Regions from separate parts of the Homo sapiens genome. Here region 2 is linked to region 1. Evidence: promoter capture Hi-C in 16 types of primary human blood cells and fetal thymus (Javierre and others, 2016). All regions are on one chromosome and are shown on one strand. The core of a region is centred on a gene start or on the middle of the fragment in contact, and the rest is flanking DNA. Distances in the headings are between cores, read along the strand shown. Region 1 holds the start of LINC00051 (long intergenic non-protein coding RNA 51). Region 2 has its middle 98 kb from the start of MIR1302-7.

Region 1 (5,657 bases), core at 1,231-3,730:
CCCGCAGGGCTGGCCACCCTCCAGGAGTCACACCTCTGTGCTCTGGAACCAGCAGTGAACCTCCAGGAGTGCCATCCCTCAGTGCAAAGACACTGCCCTGATATCCAGAGATCCCCCAGGTCCCCTCCCATGGCCGTGCTGCCCTCAGCTCCCATACCTGGGCCCAACCCCCCACTGCATGCCCTCGGCTCCCCAGCGCCCTCAGAGCCCCAGCACATGGCGGGTGCCCCAGGAGTCCCTGGAGGGCAATGGAAGGCCTCCTAACCCAGGCTGCTGACCCAGTCAGGGTCCAAAGCCAAACCCAAGGATGAAGGTGTCGGAGAGCTGGCAGCCAGGAGCAGGTGGAAAGGCCAGGGTGGCAGAGCCTGAGAGACAGAGGGAGACAGGGCTGCCGGGCTCATGGAACAGGCCCAGCCCCTGAGTAGCAGCCTCGAGCAGCTGAGCCCAGAGAAAGATGTTGAAAGTCAGCCCGTAGCAGGCAGGGCAAGGGCCTGGGAGGAGAGGGGCCAGACCCCTGCCTGGGTGGGACCTCTTCCCAGAGCCAACGGCACTGCTGCCCCTCGGTGTGGCCTCTGAGCCCCGCTGTAAAGCAAGTGACACCCACCTGGTAAGGACTGGTCAGCGCCGAGCAGGGTGGCCCGGAAGCTCATGGTGCACATCCACGCAGCCACCACATCCCATCCTGTCCCAGGAAGTCACAGGTATTTCCCATTCTGTGGACGGCAGCCGAGGCTGGAGGAGGAGAGACCCGGCAGGCTCCAGGCCCCGCCTGCCAAGCACCATGCTGTACTGCCCACAGTGGCCAGCGTCCCTCAGTGTCCAGCAGCTGCAGGAGACCTGTGGAAGCCCCAGGAAGAGGCCTCAGGGCGTGCCTGGCTGGGCCCTCTCTATCTGAGTCCACTGCATCTTGCATGAAGGTTCCTTGGGAATCCTGGGGAGACCTGGGAAGTTCATTGGGAGCTCTGGATGCTGAAGGCCAGGAGCTTGGGCCGGGTGGGGAGGGCGGTGCAGGGGCTGGGGGGCTTGCCAGGGTCTCCTAGCACAAGCCACCCAGCTCCCGGCAGGTGGAGTCAAATAGACGTGTCTCCTCCACCGCCTCCACCCTCCCAGCCGAGGGCCCAGACCCCATATTGGCTCTCTCAGGGCCTCGGCCTCCTCTTGCCCTCCTAGAAAAGGCCCTGAAGAGGGAATTCTCATGGCTCCCTGGCTCTCCTCAGCGACTCCCTCCCACAGCAAGCAGGCCTGGAGCACCAGCACCTGACCCTCTGGGAAGCAAGCAGGTGGGAGCAGGGAGGGCGAGGCTCCCAGCCACCCCGCTGCTGGTGGAAAGCCTGGGTCTGAACCCACATCTTCCACAGTATGAAGGAGGCTCGATCAATTCCGGAAGATGCTAGACTTCTTCCAGAAATTCCAGCCCCAGATCCTGCCTCTTGCCTCCTCCCCAGAGCCTTGTTTCACAACATGATTGAACCGCCCCATTATTTAATAAAACTGTCAGAACAACTGATTTGTGCGATGTACATGGTTCCCTTTTTTTGCTCTTCTTTCTTTCCAGATTCAATAAACCCTGAAGTTGTTCCAAGAAGACAGGCGAGTGATGGGAAGCATCAATTTCCTGAGGACCAGCCCGGCTGCACAGGACAAGCCGCACTGAACCCAGTGGGGAGCCACCCCTAGAAAGGCCAGGGCAGCTGCTTATAGGGAGGCAACAACCACCCCTGCATGTGGAGGGTAGGAGAGGAGGTGGCAGGGAGTGAGTGCAACCAGGGAAAGCTTCCTGGAGGAGGAGACATCAGGATTCTGTCTTGACGCACTAACAGGAGTTTGCCGATGGAATAGAGGTGCAAGAGAATTGCATACAGAAGGAAAATTGAGTTTGCAAGGACATCTGCAGGACAGCAGGGGCTGGGGGAGAACGCTTAGGGTGACAGAGTGCGTGGCCCCGGGGGGGTAGAGCGCTCAGACTTTGAAGTCAGAGCTCATACCAGGCCTGGGTGCCAAGGTAAGGTCCTTGATCTCCAGGCTGGGGTCACTCAAGGGCTGCAGGATTCTCAGGGAGGACTGTAGGTCCCACAGGCACTGGGCTCGGGAAGGGGCAGTGTCCCCAACCCACAACAGAGCTGGTGTAGCCGGGAGCCTCGCCCCTTCCCAGTGCAGGGAGAAGGCAGCCCACAGCCTCCATCACCCAAAGGAGTCGACTTTCGCACGCGCAGGGCTGTCAGGCTGACTGTGCACCCAGAACAATGCAGCCTCATCGCTACCGGGTCCTGTTGACTGTCAGGCCCTGGGACTCAGCTGCTTCAGCTCCTAAACTGGGCACCTCTTTCTGACTCGCTTGTTGGGAGAAAGGCTCCGCCCCTCTCCAGACCCCGCCCCCAGGGAGGAGGGGCAAGACCTCTCATTGGAGGGCTCTGTGGGAAGGCGGGCTCTGAGCACCAGCTCTGCCCCTAGCAGCTGCTGGGCTGGGGCAGGAAGGGGGAGAGTCCCCATGGCCCCAGCAGCAAGCCCCTGCCTCTCTCCTGTCCGGCTGCTGCCCCACTCTGAGGCCCAGGTTCTCTTCTCCCAAGAGCGAGTGCGTTGGGTAAGTCAGCGCCAGGGACCAGCCCCCAGGTTCCCCAGCTCCCAGGTGAGTGCAGAGAGAGGGGCGGCAGCTACAGCCCACTTAGCTCAGGCCACCTGGTCCCAGCGCCACGAGGCCGGAAGCTGCCTTCTCCCGAGGGCCCTCAGACCCCTCCACCCCTGCCCAGCCCAGCCTCCAGCTGCCCACTGCCCTCAGCCCTCACGCCCTCACTCACTTCACAGGCAGCAGAAGTGGGCTGGAGTTCCAGCCGTGTGGCTGGGGTGAGCAGAGGGAGGGTTTTCGCTGAGACGTGGGTGAGGCTGCTCCCTCCATAGACTGTGAGAATCGGAGGGTGTCCCTCCCGTACACCTGGAAACTCCCAGACACCCCAGGACACTCCCTGAAGGGTCCTTGGAAAGGCCTGACAAGGAAGGGGGGGCACTCTGCCAGACACTCTGTCAGAGAACATTCTAGACTCACCTCCCACCTGCCCCCTCACTAACAGCCTGCCCTCTCGGCCCGTCCTGGACGCCTCCCTCACTAACAACAGCTAAGTGTAGCAGAGCCTGCGATTTTTTCCCCCAGTTTTGGAGGGCTTCTGGCTGTCTGGCTAAAGACTCTGTTTTCCAGCCACCCTTCAGCAGGGGTAGTCCTGGGACCAACATATGGCCAGTAGGATGGAGGGATGGGACGAGGGAAGCCTCTGGGCTAAGTTGCTAACAGGAAGGAGCCGGCCACCCTGGTCCATTCTCCCCTCCCTGCTGGCCAGAGGATAGATGTGATGGCCGGAGCAAGAGCAGCCACCTTGGCCACAGATGGAAGCTGTGTGTCGAGGACAGCAGAGAAACAGGAGGAAAGGAGCCTGGGCTTCACTGTGGTGCTGCCACAACCCCCCTGGGCTGCCTGACCCCCCTGGGTTGCCACAAACCCCCTGGGCTGCCCACACTTCCATGGGGTCACCTGCCCTCTGTCCACTGCTCTTATTTCTGGCAGTGGCCTGAGCCCACAGCCCAACTCACCCCCACAGCATTTCTCATCCTGCTGGGCCTGTGGCTCTGGGCAGGTCCCTGCCTGGGGATTCCTGGCATCTGCCCTCTCATGGGTCTTTCAGTCTAATTGGCAAAACATTTGAAGAGCTCCTGCACTCACAGAGTGAAACCCCAGGAAACGGAGCCCGCGAGGGATGCCAAGCTCTCCTAATAACAACACCTTTGTTTATTGTGGGATGTGGGCTGCTGTTGTGATGCAGGATCCAGACCTCGAGTAACCCTGTGCGATGGCAGGCCTTCACCCTGGGACTGGCCAAGGGCCCTAGCCCCTTCATCAGAGGTAAAAGGGTATCCCCATTCCCACCCGCCTCCCACAGGGCTCCAGCCTGACACCACTCGAAACATCTCATCAGGCCTATTCTCCCGACTCCAGGTCACCCATGACTCTCCCGCCCTCATCCGTTTCTGCACATTCCTCGCCATGCCCATCTCCCTCCTGCCCATCCCGGAGCCCACCGGACTGCACAGCCAGCATCAGCACAGCCTGTCCTGCTGAGTGGGGCTGCCTGCAGTCCATGGCACGAGATAGAGGCAGAACCTGGAGGCAGGCCGAGGTCGCCGCTACTCCTGGCCACTTCCAGACCACCCTGCCACCATCCTCCCTTCAGTCCACGGTCCAGACTTCCTGGAAGGCACCTTGCAGCCTTCGTTTGCCGAATTGTGAGATGCGTTTGCTCACCGGCCTCCTCCCGCTGAGCGTCCCTGGTGTCTGACCCACCTCTGTTTCCTTCTGTATGCACAGGTGTTTGTTGCATGACTGAACGACATTGAGGAGGGGACACGGCTCAGTAGAAACTTCCTTTAAGATGCATACAAGCTGCGGCAAAGCAAAGTGTGTTTACAAGGAGTTCCTGTGTGGGCTGGGCAGGGGCATCAGCTGCTCTTACTGGGGGAGGATGGTAGTGATGCAAACACAAGAGGTAGGGTTGGCAGCCGCACCCCTTGCAACTATCAGGGCAGCCTTGGGGCTTTCACAGGCGTGGTGAGGACCTGTCCTTGCGTGTTTCCCTCTTACCATGTTACCATGGAAACACACCATGCATGGACCTTACCCTGCGGATATGCCCCCTACGTGGCAAAAGGGATGTGCGGATGTGAAGGACCAGGAGATGTGTGACAATCCTGGGGGACCCAGGTGGGTCCTAAATGTCACTTCAAGGGTCCTTTTAAGAGGAAGGCAGGTGGCCAGGCTTATGCCTATAATCCCAGCACTTTGGGAGACCGAGGTGAGAGGGTCACTTGAGGCCAAGGCCAGCCTGGGCAAAATAGCAAGACCTCGTCTCTACAGAAAAAAATTAAAAATTAGCCGGGCATAGTGGCGTGCCCCTGTAGTCTCAGCTACCCGGGAGGCTGAAGCAGGAGGATCACCTGAGCCCAGGAGATGGGGGCTGCAGTGAAGCATGATGGCACCACTGCACTCCAGCCCTGCATTCAAGCGCGGGTGACAAAGCGAGACCCAATCTCAAAAAAGAAAAAGAGAGGGAGGCAGGAGACAGGTGTGAGGAGGGGAAGGGCTGCGAGACAGAGGCTTCGAGGAAAGCAGAAGGTCTCCAGAAGCCTGCAGAGGCCAGGAGGGAGCCTCCCATGGGGCCTCTGGGAGGAGCCTGCTCTGCCGACGCCTAGATGGAGCCCCTAACTCTCCTTCTGGATTTCTGACTCTGGAGCTGTGAGAAACGAACTTCTGTTGGTTGAAGTCACGGGTTGGTGGTTAGTTATTACAACAGAAACAGGAAACCGGTATGTCGGGTCGCTCCCAGCCTCAAGCCCCAGCTCTATTTTCCCATAAAAGCTAAGTTCTCACCATGAGGTGCTCTAGCTGCCAGGGTGGAGGAGGGGGTGTCACCCCACACTGATTTGTGGGCCCAGGGGTGAGGACACCTCACCTGCCACCCAGAACCGGGCCCACATCTCCCGGCGAGGCCTCCGTGGCTGCATTGCCGGCAATGACTAGGTGTTTTATGCTGAACGTTGAAGATATTTTCCACTGGAGATTTAACACGGAACATCAAGAACCATTGAAATCACTCATATCAATTGAAGATACAATA
Region 2 (5,657 bases), core at 1,562-4,061, 510 kb before region 1:
TTAGACGAAGTTACAAGCTGGGCCCTGACCCTGGTCACACACTAAGCTCTGACCCTGGTCTCAGACTGAGCCCTGATTCTCATCACTGAGTCACTAAGTCCTGATCCTGGTCACATGTCGAGCCTCGACCTTAGTCATACACTGAGTCTTGACCCTGGTCACAGGCTGAGCCCTGACCCTGGTCACACACTGAGCCCTGATCCTGGTCACACACTGAGCCCTGACCCTGGTCCTCAATCAGCTGAGCCTTGATCCTGCTTCCTGATTGGCTATGAACTGTTCCAGTGTGGAAGGGAGAGGCCAGGGCATGAGGTGGGACTCGCTAGGGCAGCCCCTCTGCACATCTGGGACTCAGGTCAGAACACAACCCTCCCTACATGCGAGAAGAAGTTCCTGCAGGTGGCATCTTTCAGGTAGCTGTGCTTTAAGCCTGCGCTGGGCTTGCCCTCCGGTGACAGCAGCAGCTTTCAAGGAGGCAGCCATGAGACAGTCCCTCAGGCTGGGGGCTTGATCACGCTCACCTCAGAGCCTCACCTCCTGGGGAGTGAGCAAAAGTGAGAGTCATTAACCCACTTTACAGAGGAGGAAACGGAGGCCCGGGAAGGGGCCTCAGGATCTCGCCCAGAGAATAGCCGGTCCTGAAGACCCTGCATCTGAGCCACACCCTGCTCTGCCCACACCTCCTGGGGTCTCAGCACCCCCAGTGCATTTTCCCCCGCCCCCGGCCTGCACTGTGAGCTCCGGTTGGTGGTTCCTAGCAAGCACCTGTTGGCTGTGCCAGGCCCCAAGCGCCTCATGAGCTAAAGAGGGTGCCCTGCTATTCTGGGGCTCAATGCCCAGCCTCTGCCCGAGTAGCCTTGTCTGTGCCTGTCCTGGGCCGGCCCTCCACGTCTGGAGGGGAGACGGAGCTTGCCTTCTCTGTGCTGTGGGACTGACTGTGTCGGGGTGGGGCAGGGAGGAAGCAAAAACCAAACCCCTCGCTTCCCCGACTGCCTGCCCTCGCCTGTCTCCAAACCTCACGGACATCCAGCTCGAGGGAAGTGAACGTCACTCCAATATCTGAAAATGCAGCTGATGCTGCAATTACATCCCCTGTCCCTTCTCCTTCCGGGGGTCCTCTGGGGTCCTGGGAATCCGGCCAACAGGAATCTGTTTTATGATCCTGAGTCTCTGCCAGCAGGAAGGCCGGGCGAGGCCGGTCCCTATGTGCCCACGATGCTCTCACATAAATATGCATCACTTAAAATTTAATAAAAAATACCAATTATAAAAGCTATTTACCCAGTCAAATCAATCACTGGCCTTGGTGTGTTTATGCCTGAACACCTGATTTCTGCTCATAAGTCACTTTTACACCCTCTTTAGGTGCTAACGACCTGAGTGAGCTGGCAGCGGTTCCGGAGGGATGGGGCTCACCTATCCCAACCCCTCACCCCCACTCCTCAGGGCCGGGGAAGTCAGCTTGCCTCTCAGGAAGCTGGAATCCCAGAATCAGGGCTCAGAGCCTCTGGCCTCCTGTGGGCAGCCCCAGTCCCCTCTGCAGGTAGTAGAGTCAAACCTCCTCTCCTTCAGGAGGTCTTCCCTGCCCTCCCCAATTCTCAGGGCTTCTCCAACATTAAATGGGCGGCTCTGTCTGCATTAGCAAGAAATGTGTTCAATTTCTCACTTTCTGCAGCAGCGACTGCAGGCCCACCACACACAGAGCCTGTTTCAGCTCCAAGGGGTACCAGCTGTATGCCCCTTTTGCAAAGCGTGAGTCCCTGTTGATGTCAGGGATGGAGGCGGGTAACATAAGACACCAGGGCTGTGCCTGGGTCCCTGCCTGCCTCACACCAGAGCATCTTGCCAACTAGAAGAGGATTCCTGGCCAAGGAATCATCCACGCCAGTTTGGGAACTGTGGCCACATGGCCCATGAGGAGGCAGGAGGGGCAGGGGAACAGCATCCCCTACCCCAGATCTGCTCTTCATCCAGGCCCCACACTTCCTGGCTGAGTGACCTCAGGCTGGTCTCCGGACCTCTTTGATCCTCCATGTCCTTATCTTTGGATCAAGAATTGCTGTGAGTTTGAGTGAGTCAGTGCATGGTGGGTACTTAATCCTGATACTCAGTGGCATCATAGCCACAGCTGGCATTCGTTTGTGTGCTCTCTGCCTTCATTCAGCTGTATTTATTGAAAGGCAGTTTGGCCACGTCACTAAGTACATGGACTCTGATATCAAATCCACCTGGATTTGAGCTTCAGCTCTGCCACTCGTGGTGTGATAGTGGATAAGTCACTTAGCCTCCTTGTGACTCAGGTTTCTTGTGGCAAGACAAATGCCACAGTGGGTATCTCACAGGGTTGGAGATGCATTCTGGAATGCAGATGTGATGGTTGGAGCTGAAGCAGCCCTTTTGGGCTGCAACAAAAAGCTCACAGTTTTGGGATGAAGCAAGATCTTCAGGCAAAGAGTTTTGTTCATAGTTGCTGGATCCCAAATGCCTCCAAACCATGCAGTCCCCAATGTCTGCTGAGGTGGAGGTGGCACAGTGCAGGGACTAGGCCTGGCTTTGCCCTGACAGTGCGATGGTGGCAAGTTGAGAGTAGTCTCTGTATTTCTGTTACCCCATCCCTATCAGGGACCACAATGCACCACCTTCATAGGTTGCTGGGGGGATTAAAACATGGGGTATAAGCTTGTTGGTGTAATGCCCATCACATGGTGGGGCTCACAATAACTCAGCCAGTTTACTATTAAATGTATCAAGGGTACCAAGTGTTCTGCTGTGTACCAAGTGATCAGCTAAGCAATTTGCACATTTTATTCTATTTAATCCTCTCAAATTCACGCTGGAATTTTATCAGAAGTCTTCACAAACATTCCCCATTTCACCATTTGCGACAGTTAGATTTGGTGGTAAGTCACAGAGACTGAAAATAGCAATGGCCTAAAAAAGAAAGAAGCTTCGCTCTCCCTTTTCCATAGAGCCTGGAGGCAGGCCAGCCAGGACTGAAATGGTCTACTCCACAGAGAGCTCAGAGACCAGGCTCCTTTTGCCCTGTTGGTCCCCCAAGCATGGCCTCCATTCTCAAAGCCACTTCAAGGTGCAAAAGGGTGCTTCGGCTCCAACGATCACATCTGCATTCTAGGGGGCAGCAAGGGAGAGGCAAGCTGTGAGTGGCAGCTGACTTTTAAAACTGCCCCTGGACACTTGCTTCTGTTTACATGTCACTGGCCAGAACTTCAGTCATGTGGCTGTGCCTGGGTGAAAGGAGAATTGTGATATGTAACCACTTTCTTCTATGTGTGCCCAGCTAAACTTTCTGCGCAAGAAAGGAGGAGAGAATGGGCATTGTAGGACAACTAGCCCTCTCAGACCCACCCATGTTTGATCATTTTTTAGTGTAATTTTAGCTAATCCATCTAGGGAAGCTAGCATTCAGTGTAAAGCAGGATTTCTTCCCCTTGACACTATTGCTATTTTGAGCTGGGTGATTCTTTGCTCTGGGGACAGGGGCCATCCTGTATCCTGTGCATTGCGGGATGCTGAACAGCTTCCCTGACCTCTGCCCACTAGATGCCAGCAGCACCTCCCAGCTGTGACAATCAGACATTGGCAAATGTCCCTGGAGGACAAAATTGTCCTTGATTGAGAACCTCTGACTTAAAGCAAAGACAAAAGTGATGACTGGAGGAGAAAGGTCACGCAGGGAAAATCAGTCACAGGCTGGGGGAGACATTCCACTTTCCAGAGACCTTATCTCGCCACTTCCCCACCCCACTTCCCCCTTTTTGCCCGCATCACAAGTGACCTCCTCCACGGTAAGCTGAAAGCGTACAATTGGTCTATCATCTGTCCTCTGGATAAACCCTGGATTTGAGATGACGGTGTGAAAACACATGCTCAGGATCCGCAAATCTAGAACCAAATAGAACTGAAAATGGACACGTAAAAGGGGAGGATATTGTCAAATGAGAAATGTTAGACGGAATCACAAAGAGAAAGACGGACAGCTTGACTTATAGAAAAATCGGAAACTCCTGCCTCTTAACAAACACAGAAAAGGCCACAAATGAAAAGCCACTACCCCATGGAAAATATATTTCCAGCCAACACCGCATTCGAGGGGTTAACATCTTCAGCGTGTAAAAGGACTTTCTAAAAATTGATAAGTAACACGTAGAACCTCAGATAGGTTATTAGTCAAAGTATGTGGCTGCCCAATTCCCAGGAATCATAAATACAGTTAGGAAATAAACATGGAAAAGTTATCTTCCCTTACTAGTAATAAAGAAAATGCACATTAAAACCAAGTACGGATTCTTGTTAATAAGGGGAACAGACATTAAAACATGGTAATGTCTGACATGTGCTGTGTCGGGTGCAGGCAGGGACTGCCCCAGGAGCAGACAGTTGGCAGCCTGCATCACACGCTTAAAAATGCCCCCTTAGACTGGCAGTTTAATTTCTAGGATGCTATCCTGAGGAAGTAATCTTAAATACGAAAAAATAGGTATTTTTAGCAAAATAATTAGAAACAACCTAAGTGTTTGAACATGGGGGATGTTTAAGTAAACTGTGGGTTATCCACTTGAATGAATATTACAGCCATTAAAAAATAATGTTTGCTAAGAGCACATACCGAGAATGCTTGCAGGGAACAAAAAGTGTGATCCTAACAGGTAATATAGTGTAATATGATTCCAACTCTGTCAGCAAGAAATCACCATCATCTCAGGAAAAGCTAGGAAAATAGCGCTTTAGAAATAATGAAAGGACATGCCCCCAGATATTAGCAATGGTTTTGTTTGCATGGTGGGGTTATAGGCAGAGCTTGCTTTATTTTATTTACTGTTTGTTATTTTCCAAGTTTTCCCTCGCGCAGTTGGCATTACCTTTTGTAAGACAGGAGTATATTTTGCAAAAGCCTGGCCAACTGCAGGAGAGAAGTTTGTGGTTGATTATTACTGCATGACCCTGGATTACTCCATGATTTTTAAGTTGTGAAAAATAAATGACAAGGAAGGAACAGTCAGGCTTGCTGATGGCATCACCTCCTTTGTGCGCTCCTGGCCCAGGGACCCCTCCTCAGTGGGTGGGGCTGGTGGGTAGGTGTGAGCACTTCTAATAAATCCACTCAGGCAGGGAAGTGTTGGCCGCCAGGGAAAGCAAGGAGCTGAGCACGGCGGGCGCATTCGCAGGTGCGTGTGTGTTGAACCATCTACGTGACAAATATTCCTGTAAAAGGCATTTCCCCTGGTGCTCACCTGGCAGTAGAGTTAGGTTTTACATTAGTGATACAGCAGGATACTGGGCTACAGACTCTAGCTTTCTCCCTCCAGAGGGTTGCTGGAAGTCCCCCGTGTGCCTCTGGTTCCAGCGTAGTGATTACTTGTGTCCTGGTTTCAGTGAGAAGTTAGAGTCCCCCATGCTTCCTGTTCTCTGAGGGGATGCTCAGGTGTCGATGCGTGGGGTCAGCCTCTGATTTGTGGGGGTCCTCCTAGGAGCCTTTCTGGGCTGTCTGGCACATCCAAGGACCACCAAGGTCAATCTATAGGTATCTTGGGGCCACCCTGAGGGTCCTGGAGCTGCTCCCGTGTGCACTGGTTTCCTGAGGAGTCTGAGAGTCACTTAGAGATCATGGTGCACTTCCCAGTTCATGGGAACACCCA

What was found. The method cuts DNA at HindIII sites, captures the fragments that hold promoters and counts their contacts. A CHiCAGO score of 5 or more calls a contact.
Region 2: a contact is called between a fragment that was not itself captured here and the fragment with the promoter of LINC00051 in region 1, in 4 of 17 cell types (M0 macrophages, M1 macrophages, M2 macrophages and 1 more). The highest score is 7.9, in M0 macrophages.

What each region holds. Positions count from the first base shown.
Region 1 is chr8:142,195,876-142,201,532 of GRCh38, forward strand. LINC00051 (long intergenic non-protein coding RNA 51) reads left to right here and starts at 2,481. Exons shown (of 3, transcript NR_024378.1): 1 at 2,481-2,581. LOC105375792 (a long non-coding RNA gene) reads right to left here and starts at 1,654. Exons shown (of 4, transcript XR_007061194.1): 1 at 1-1,654. RefSeq lists an enhancer at 2,233-2,527. The HindIII fragment of the contact is 4,093 bases long and covers 1,772-5,657 here.
Region 2 is chr8:141,685,650-141,691,306 of GRCh38, forward strand. No RefSeq gene overlaps it. Among named protein-coding and RNA genes, the nearest start is that of MIR1302-7, 98 kb to the right of the region's middle. The HindIII fragment of the contact is 268 bases long and covers 2,678-2,945 here.